2 separate regions of the Homo sapiens genome follow, and region 1 is linked to region 2. The links are contacts of gene promoters, found by promoter capture Hi-C in blood cells and fetal thymus (Javierre and others, 2016). All regions are on one chromosome and are shown on one strand. The core of a region is centred on a gene start or on the middle of the fragment in contact, and the rest is flanking DNA. Distances in the headings are between cores, read along the strand shown. Region 1 overlaps SLC25A53 (solute carrier family 25 member 53). Region 2 holds the start of TCEAL1 (transcription elongation factor A like 1).

Evidence for each region. The method cuts DNA at HindIII sites, captures the fragments that hold promoters and counts their contacts. A CHiCAGO score of 5 or more calls a contact.
Region 1: a fragment that was not itself captured here is called in contact with the fragment with the promoter of TCEAL1 in region 2 in 1 of 17 cell types (total B cells); the score reaches 5.4 in total B cells.

Annotation. Positions count from the first base shown.
Region 1 is chrX:104,117,092-104,121,726 of GRCh38, reverse strand. The region is part of intron 1 of SLC25A53 (solute carrier family 25 member 53); the gene reads left to right. Among named protein-coding and RNA genes, the nearest start is that of ZCCHC18, 6.9 kb to the right of the region's middle. The HindIII fragment of the contact is 1,901 bases long and covers 1,341-3,241 here.
Region 2 is chrX:103,627,635-103,632,000 of GRCh38, reverse strand. It overlaps TCEAL1 (transcription elongation factor A like 1), which reads right to left and starts at 3,026. Exons shown (of 3, transcript NM_004780.3): 1 at 2,976-3,026; 2 at 2,428-2,507; 3 at 1,048-2,116. The coding sequence starts at 2,084. The coding sequence ends at 1,605. RefSeq lists enhancers at 2,072-2,141, 2,212-2,261, 2,166-2,460, 3,332-3,401. The HindIII fragment of the contact is 2,900 bases long and covers 2,702-4,366 here.

The sequences.
Region 1 (4,635 bases), core at 1,042-3,541, 490 kb before region 2:
GGGTTTGGAAAGTTCCATTGAAAATGTTAAAAACAACCCGCTCCTCCTGCCAAATCATTTGAAAACTTAATTTGGGGAGTTTCTTAGAGCTGAGTTGACCTTTAAATATTATTAAGTATTAAAGTCTCTAGTAGCTCAGAGTTAAAGGGTATTCCCAGCAAGTTTAAGAGATGAGGAAGGGCCCTGAATGTGAGCCAGAGCTACTAAAGTAGGATGTGCCACAGGCCACCTCTCTTTCTGCTCTGGTTCCTGTGAAACATAGTGCTTGTTCCAGTAACGTCACCTCTAGGAATGTATCCTCAGGAAATAATCGTTCACATGTGCAAACCTGTATGTGAATAAGGATGCTTTTCTCAGTGGGTTTATAACAGTGAAACAAGGAAACAAGGTAATGAATGGCTCTAAAGAGGCTGGTTTAATAAATCATGGATACAAGTAAATAATTGGATTTAATGCAGTTATGAAAAATAATCTAAACACCTTGGACCTCAGTTGCCTGGTTTTTAAATGAAGAAAGCCAAAGAAGAATTGTATTCCTCAACTAGTTTTAGGAGGCCAGCAAACCTTTGATACCAAAATCTCACAAAGACATTATACAGAAAGGAAAATTACAGGTGAATCTCTCTTACAGACATAGATCTAAAAATCCTAAACAAAATATTAGCAAATTGAATCCAGCAATATATAACAATTGTAATAAATCAGGACCAAATCTTGTTTATTTCAGGAATGCCTGGTTGGTTTATTATTAGAAACCCAAATAATGTAATTTAGCATTTTAACTAATAAATGAGAAAAAAGCATATATAATAGATACAGAAAAAGCATTTCATAAAATTCAGCATCCATTGATTATTTTAAAAACTTATGGTAAATTAGGAATGGAAGGAAACATTTTTAAACTGATAAGTGGTATTTACTAAAAACCTGCAGCAAGCATCCACTTAATGTTGAATTGCTCAAAGTGGTCCCTTGAGTTCAGGAATAGGACAAGAATGTCTCTTCTCACTAGTTGTACTCTAGGTCCCAGTCGATGCAGTAAGGTAAGAAAAAGAAATGTATATGGATTGGGAAAGAAGAAATAAAACTACCATCATTCACAGATGACATGCTTGTGTATGCAGAAAATTCTAAGGAAGCTACAGATTAAAATTATTAAGAGATTAGCAAAGTCAGTGTACAATATCAACATCAAAAGACCAGTTATATTTCTATATACCATCAACAAGCCCTTAGAAAATGAAATTTAAACCAATATTTAATTTATAGTAGTATACACAATTACCTTGAACTAAATGTAATAATAGACGTACAAAACCTCAAGCAAAAGTTATGAAGCTTTGTTGACAATGTCAAGTGTTTGTGAGGATGTGGAGCAACAGGAACTCTCAAACATTGATGGTGGAAGTGGGAATTGGTACAACTTTGATATACAGTTTGGTGGTATCTAGTGAAGTTGAAAATATACACAATCTATGAGCCAGCAATTCCTCTCCTACATATATACCTTGTGTGTGCACATATGTACCAGGAGACATTAAAAACATGTTCTTAGCAACATTTTTCATAATTGTCCCCAACTGGAAACAGTCCAAATGTCCACCGACAGTAAAAGGATAATTTCTTGTAAAGTCGTAGAATGGAAAGCTGTAACACAATACTGAGAATGATGAACCGATGCCGCATGCAACCAGGTTGAATCTCAGAAGCATAATTGTAAGGGCAATGAGCTGGATATAGAAGGATATATGCATTATAGTTCTATTTACATAAAGCTCCAGAAACAGTAGTGTTTGGGCATCTATATTTGAGTGGTAAAGCTATAAAGGAAAGTAAGAAAGCAACAGCTAAAACTGTCATGAGAGTGTTTTGTTTTGTTTTGGAGAGAGGAAAGAGGTTGTGATTGGGCAAGGACTTATGGGAATTTCTGGAGTTCTGATCTGTTCTGTTTCTTGATCTTTATGGTGATTTGCTTTATAATAATTTGTTAAGCTGTAAATTTATATTTTATGCACTTTCCTCTGCTCCCCCCGCCCCCCGCTTAAAGAGTGTTTTAGAATGTGGAAATTTTAAGATAAGATCTATCTCAGGGCTTGTTGTAAGAATGAAATGAAGTATAAAGCCATGTAGAGCTTGTAGAATATGCCTGGCACTTTGTAAGACCTTAATAAATGTTAACTATCTAAACACAATACAGATTTGCTGTTATTATTGCTTCTCTTATTTGTTGCCAGCCCTGCCCCCTTTCCATGATATTTGTTGCCAATGTTTCTCAGCTTACTGTTGGTATTTTATTTCTGTTAATGCTGTCTTCTGAGTTATCAGTCTTTTCTTTTATACTTTCTTTCATTACTCTTAACCATAGAAAGTTCTCTCCAACCCAGAGGTTTAACATGTATTGTGTTGCAGCTTTAAAAGGGGTTGCTTTTGAACATTTGATTCTTTTTATTCATTTTATAACAAAATATACGATTAAAGAAGAATTAATACATAATTGCATAAAATCTACATTTACTGCTCAAATGTATCTGGGATTCATATTTAGTGTCATGGGAGAAAGGAAACTGACCTTTTTTCCAATCAGGTAATGAAGTTCCCCCCAGCACCATGAATTGAACAATTTATCTCTCCTCCACTCATTGTTGCAGCTGTCTCCTCTTGCATACATCAAATTCAAAACCATTTGCACCAAAAGCATAGACTGGAAACTTGATACCTGAACTGAATGTGATAATGCAACTCTGAAGGGGGAGGGGATGGTTGCCAGGCAGCAGGAAGGATAGCTGCAACAAGAGGATGTGAAAGAAAGGTGGCCTGTGTCACACAAGTATTCCTTAAAGGCTGCATCCTTGTGTATGGCGCACAAGCCACTTGCTGCTATGATATTTGGCTAATTATGTCTGTTGACCTTGCTTTCCTCATGTATCATCTTTATATAATAGTAACACCTACCTCATGGGGTGCTGTGCACATGATGGCTAACTCAAGTAAGGAACACAGACTTTGGGATCAGTCAGTCCAGTGTCTTATCCTTGACTGTACCACTAAATAATTACATGACCCTAAGTACGTTTCCTAACTTCCCAGCCTGTTTCATCATCTGAAATATGTGTCAATTAATAGTAATTAAATTAATAGCAAGTTAGAAATAGAAAGTCATGCTTATCTTAAGGGAGTTGCTATGAAAAGCTAATAATGCATTTTAAAGGCTTGGCACTGGGTGCCTGGCATGTAATAAGCTTGGAATAAATCGCACTTGCAGTGATTTTAATTTTTATTGCTATTGTGGAAGGATCAGGAAGGGAAAGAATATTCGGCAAAAGACACTGAGAAGTAGGCATCAAAAAGATCTGGGAGAGGGAAACCATGAGATGGATGTCATGGAAACAAGGGAAAATAGTATCAAGAAGGAGGGAGATATTGCAAAAGGAGGTCATTCAAAGGCTGGTTTCTCCTGACAAGACAAAAGAGCAATTTTCATCTCTTGGCGACTAATGAGAATGAAGGGAGAAAGGAAAGGAAAAACAATAATTATAAATGAAGGGTATCAAACACAAAATTTTTTAAAAGCCTTCTTTCACTTAACCCTGTAATCACTCCAAGTCTTCTTTGTCTTCCAATTAGGGAAAATACATACTTCTTGAATAAAGGAAAGCCAGTGTGACACAAAATGAAATAAAAAGTCTCACTTTTGCATCATTTTGGTGAAGTAAAAATTTAGACAGTTTCAGGTTTACACAACAGAGGACAGGATGGGGGGGAAGGAAAGGGGATGAATTACACAGCAGGGTTTCAAAGTAATGATCTTGAACCTCCAAGCTAACTCCAGTGAAAAGGAGGATGGGGGTAGGTGTAGCATTTATTCCTCTTTTCACTCTACCTGGTTTCAGAAAGAAATTATGACAGCATATCTAGGTAAATCATTCAATAGCATTTATAGAGTGAATTTGAGAAAAGGTGAGCAGCAAGGGGAACTATATTCTAATCTTGGAGAGATGAGTGGGCAAATCCCCTCCAAGGATAGACTTTGGGAGAGGTAGGGAGGAATAGGGGGCTGTAAGAGCCAGGTAGTGTTGGGGGACCCTGTGGCTTTGGGGGCTTGATGAAGCTGCCTCCTGCGTGGGTGGTGGGGTCCTCTTTGCCTGTGGTGAGATGGAGGTGGCTGCCAGGAGCCAGAGGTGCCCCAGAGGGATGCAAAAAGTGGGTCTCTTGGACCTTTACTCCTGCTCAGTTCTCAGCTAAAAGGTCAGAGGCAGAGGGGCCCTCCCAGTCTACTGGCCATGAGCATTAAGGAGGCTGAGGCTTAAGGCCATCATGGAATGCGGAGGAGGGGGAGGTGGTGATGGGCAGAGCACATGAAGCTGAGCCTCCATCTCCCTCCACCAAGAGGTGAGTGTGGCTCCAGGGAAGGGGAGTGGTGGTAAAGTGAGACTGTGATAAAATGGATGGAGCAAGGGGGATAGGAATGAGATTGCGGGGATATGGATGAAGCAGGGGGGATCTGAATGAGATTGTGGGGATATGGATGGAGCAGGGGGGATATGAATGAGATTGTGGGGATATGGATGGGGCAGTGGGGATCTGAATGAGATTGTGGGGATATGGATGGAGCAGGGCGGATAGGAATGAGACTGA
Region 2 (4,366 bases), core at 1,777-4,276:
CTGAGTACACAGCATGGTGTCTGGCTCAATAATTTTGTCTCCTAGCCCAGGACCTAGTGGAATCATGTTTGAGTCAGGTGGAGAAAAGGTGGAATCATGTTTGAGTCCAGTGGAGAAAAGGAAGGTCCTAAATGGAAAAAAAAAAAAAATGGAAGAACTATTTTACTAAGCATTTTTTTTTTTTTTGAGACGGAGTCTTGCTGTCTCCCAGGCTGGAATGCAGTGGCGCGATCTTGGCTCACTGCAAGCTCTGTCCCCCGGGTTCAAGCCATTCTCCTGCCTCAGCCTCCCGAGTGGCTGGGACTACAGGCGCCCGCCACCACACCCGGTTAATTTTTTTTTTGTATTTTTAGTAGGGATGGGGTCTCACCGTGTTCCCCAGGATGGTCTCGATCTCCTGACCTCGTGATCTGCCTGCCTCGGCCTCCCAAAATGCTAGATTACAGGCGTGAGCCACCGCGCCTGGCCTTACTAAGCATTTTTTAAAGACATTGAGGTCTAAGCAGCATTGAGATGGTAGCCTCCTAGCTAAGTGCAATATTAAAGCTGGAAGAAGGGCATTCATATATCTGCAGGAGACACAATTCAGCTTGGGCCCACCAGGGACTCCAGAGCAATCAGTGAGGCTTTGTACCTTAAGCAGTCCAGCACGTCAGCAGGGATGAGAGCCAGTGGAAGGATCAGGACCCAGGAGAAGGAGCAGCTGTGCCTAGCAGATACGGTAGGTATCTGAGAGTACAGCAGGACATGAATAGAATGTGGCACTCACTTGGAATCTCACCGGAATTGTTTGTGAGCACAAGTGAGATCTCCTTTGGGTACCTTCCCTATGTCTGCAGGGAATCTATAGGGGTTGGGGTCCTGCCTGTGCAGGTGGAATAAAGACCCCGAACATAGCTCACACAACCTTTTTCTCATCTGGTCCCACAGTAGCACTGTAAAGCAAGTATTATTCCTATTTAAATGAGAACAAAATGACTATTAAATATAATCCATATCTGGCTAATATTTGTGCCTAAGAGATTCAGAAAAAAACATAGGATTCACTTTTTTTAAAGTTCTGACAAGTATTTATTAAGTGCCACATTGTCGTTATAAGCTGATTGACAGTTTTCTTCAAAATTGTGTGATTTTTTCATTATATATTTTTGCAACACAAGTAAAACGTTTGTCCTGAAAAAATGAGAAATTCAGATAAAACAAAAATTTAAAAAATCACCTATTATCTTACCACACAACCACTGTTATGCCTTTGAAGTCTATACTTTTAGCTTTTTCTTTGCATATTAATATATAAATATACATTTTTTTTACAAAAATGGGATACAATATATACCATTTGAAAATTGCTTTTTTCGTTTCACAATATATAATGTACATCTTTCATGCAAATGTGTAGGGCTCATGACTGAAAGAGGGAAACTTGTAGATTTTAGGGGGAAACCTCAACTTTAAGCGAGTTACATGCTAAACATCTAAAATAAAGCCTCACAAAAAGTTAAAATTCAGAATATGGGAAAAGGCATTAAGAAAATGCAAACAGAAAGTCCAGGTGGCAATGGCAATACTATTAGCAGGCAAAACAGAATTAAAGGCCGAACACATTAAATAGGATAAGGACGGCTCCGTTTTGCCTTCCAGTGCATTATCATCAGTTTGTTTCTTACTCTTTTCATCTCTTCTAGCTCATCTGCTGCCTGTATCATCTCCTCATTGCTTAAATTTCTGCCATGTATGTCCCCTCTAAATTGCGGGCGAGAACGAGCCAACCTTTCTTTAAAGCTTCCTTCTTCAAGCTTATGTTTTCCTACTCCACAAGGAGGCTGCTCCATGGGAGGGCGCCCCTCAAACAGGTCCTTCCTGGAAAGACCCTCCTGCGGAGGGCGCTCCTCCGAGAGGAGCATCTCAGGCAGGAGCTCAGGCAAGAGCTCCTCAGGAAAGAACTCCTCCTCCGAGGACTGCTCCTCCGAAGACTGCTCCTCGGGGGACTGCTTTTCGGGAGAGTGCTCCACCGGAGGCCTCTCCTCATCGGTCTTGGGCGCGCTCTGCGGCTCTTCTTCATTTTCTTTGCGTGGTTTGTCCATGTTGGGAATTTTCTTCTTCAAGCACAGTTATTCTTAGGAGACAAGAAAGGCAGAATAGAGTCAGAATACTAAGCGGCTGGACTAACACCCAGGCCGTGGGTTCCAATACCTGCCTTTTCCTGATTCGGGGGCCAGGTCCTCAACCTTGCGCTTTCCCAGAGGCTCTCCGGCTCTCCCGACTCCGCCGCTTCCCGGTCGCCCCCTCCTTCCCGAAAGCCCACCATTTTCCCAGCAGGCTTTGCTACAGGCCTCGCCCGCAGTGACAGGGGCGGGACAGTGCGGCCTGCAGACTCCATGCCTTTCGGCGTCCACCCTCGCGCCCCAGTCCCGGCCCACTGCGTACCCCTTCCCTGACCTGGACCTTTCCGGGCCGTGTGCTCCTAGTCGTCCTCTCCTCGAGGTGCCCCGCTGTGACCAGCAGACCTGCACACAGACGCAAGACAGGGTAGGGGGCGGGGAGTGGGGAGGAGGGACGGACTGACTGACACCCCCCACCCCCCACTTTCTGGGCACCAGCCACTGCCTGCACGCTCCCCTAGCTCTCGGGTTCTCTTTTCGTCTCAGCCCCTGCGTCAAGCTTCGTCCTCCGTGCTCCCACCTCCCCACCCCGCAAAGCTTGCCATTTCTTTTCAGATGAGAAGTGGAAGCGAAGCATTTTTAGAAACTATTTCCAAATGTCTGTACCCCCCTCCCGGGGGACGGGGGAGGTACTCGCCTCCCCACCCCGCCCCAAAGACCACCATATTTTGCACAGAAATGTGGGCGCGGGGGGCGGGGCTGGAGCTTAGGGAAAGGCCTGGACTCCGCCATCCCGATTCTGTCAACCCCATTCCCCGGGTTACTAGGCAGCGCCGACACTCACACCGATTTAAGAGGGTAGAGGGAACTTACTTCTTCTGCTTTCCCTCTCGACCAAAGGGTAATAGGGAGATGGTGGACAGGCAAAAAAAAGACCGGGACGAGAGGGACTTGGGCACATAGAGGCTCCTGGTCACGTGAGGGACGCGCGTCACTGCCGAACTCAGATCCCCAGTTACCACTTTGATCTGCGGCCCTGCCGCAGCCACCTGCTAGTGCCTGCTAGTGTTCTCTGACCCGAGACACACCAGGCATTGTCACTCACCTCTCTTTGTATTTGCCTTTTCCTGGTTGCCAGAGACGGTCCGCATCTAGTCTCGGGTAGTATTGCCTCTTCCTCTGTGCTACTTCCCCTAGTACCACCTCTTTCTCCCCTCCTCCCTTCCTTAGCCACCAAGGCCCCTTATTTCCCCTGCAGTTCAGATCCTGCACTGACGTTTGACTGTTCACCTTCATAAATCAGTATTATATCCTTATATCCCAACACTCTCAGTTTTAATCCACATCCGTATCTCCATCATGTCCATTTAGGCTCATTCAGCATGTTTCATCTCTTGTCACTTTCATGGGAGACAATCTTTCACTTTTTCTTGACATCACATTTTGTTTTTTTGAGCCCCCAGATCTAAATTGGTAATCATTCAGTTCGAGACCTGTAGAAAGAGTTGAGTTTGTAAAGTTTGTAGATCTAAAAAGAATGAATACTTTGATTTTCATAAATCAAATACGTATTTGTCCATCTAAGTACAAACAGTCCAGAACACTTATTATCTGAAATGGGATAGTCCTTGGTGGAGAGCTTGGCATTATTCTCTCTATGTGTGTATATATATACACACATATATATGCGTGTATATATATACACGCATATATATGCATGTATACACACTGAATAGATTATAAAATATATTTATATACATGTGTACATATATATAAATTATTCAGTAGTTATTCATAATAGAATAAATAGATTTTACTGGGACTCTCAATCCTTAACCAGCCACCTCTTGGTGCTTCTGGTTGAGGAAGTTTATATTAATTCACTAAATCAACAAATATTTGAGTTCTGGGACTGCTGGACCCCAAAAGATAGATGCAGCAGGGAGGGCATTCCATATTAAACTATGCAATAATTCTGTTGACCACATACTGAATAGCAGGACTACAATTATGCTAGCATTTTCAATTGTCATTGCAATATGTATTTTTTTTTATCTAACAGTATTTTATGATCTTTAACCTTATGCCTGCCTCTCATCTACTCACATCAGCCTGGATGCTACTTTCTTATGCAGATGCTCTTTCCCCTACAGAGCATACTACTTCCCTTCCCTCTGTGTTTTACACTTTCAGGGTAGATGACCATCTGATCTGTGAGGATCCTGGGATTTTGTTTTAAAGCCAGGCTGTTTAGTAAGTTTCTG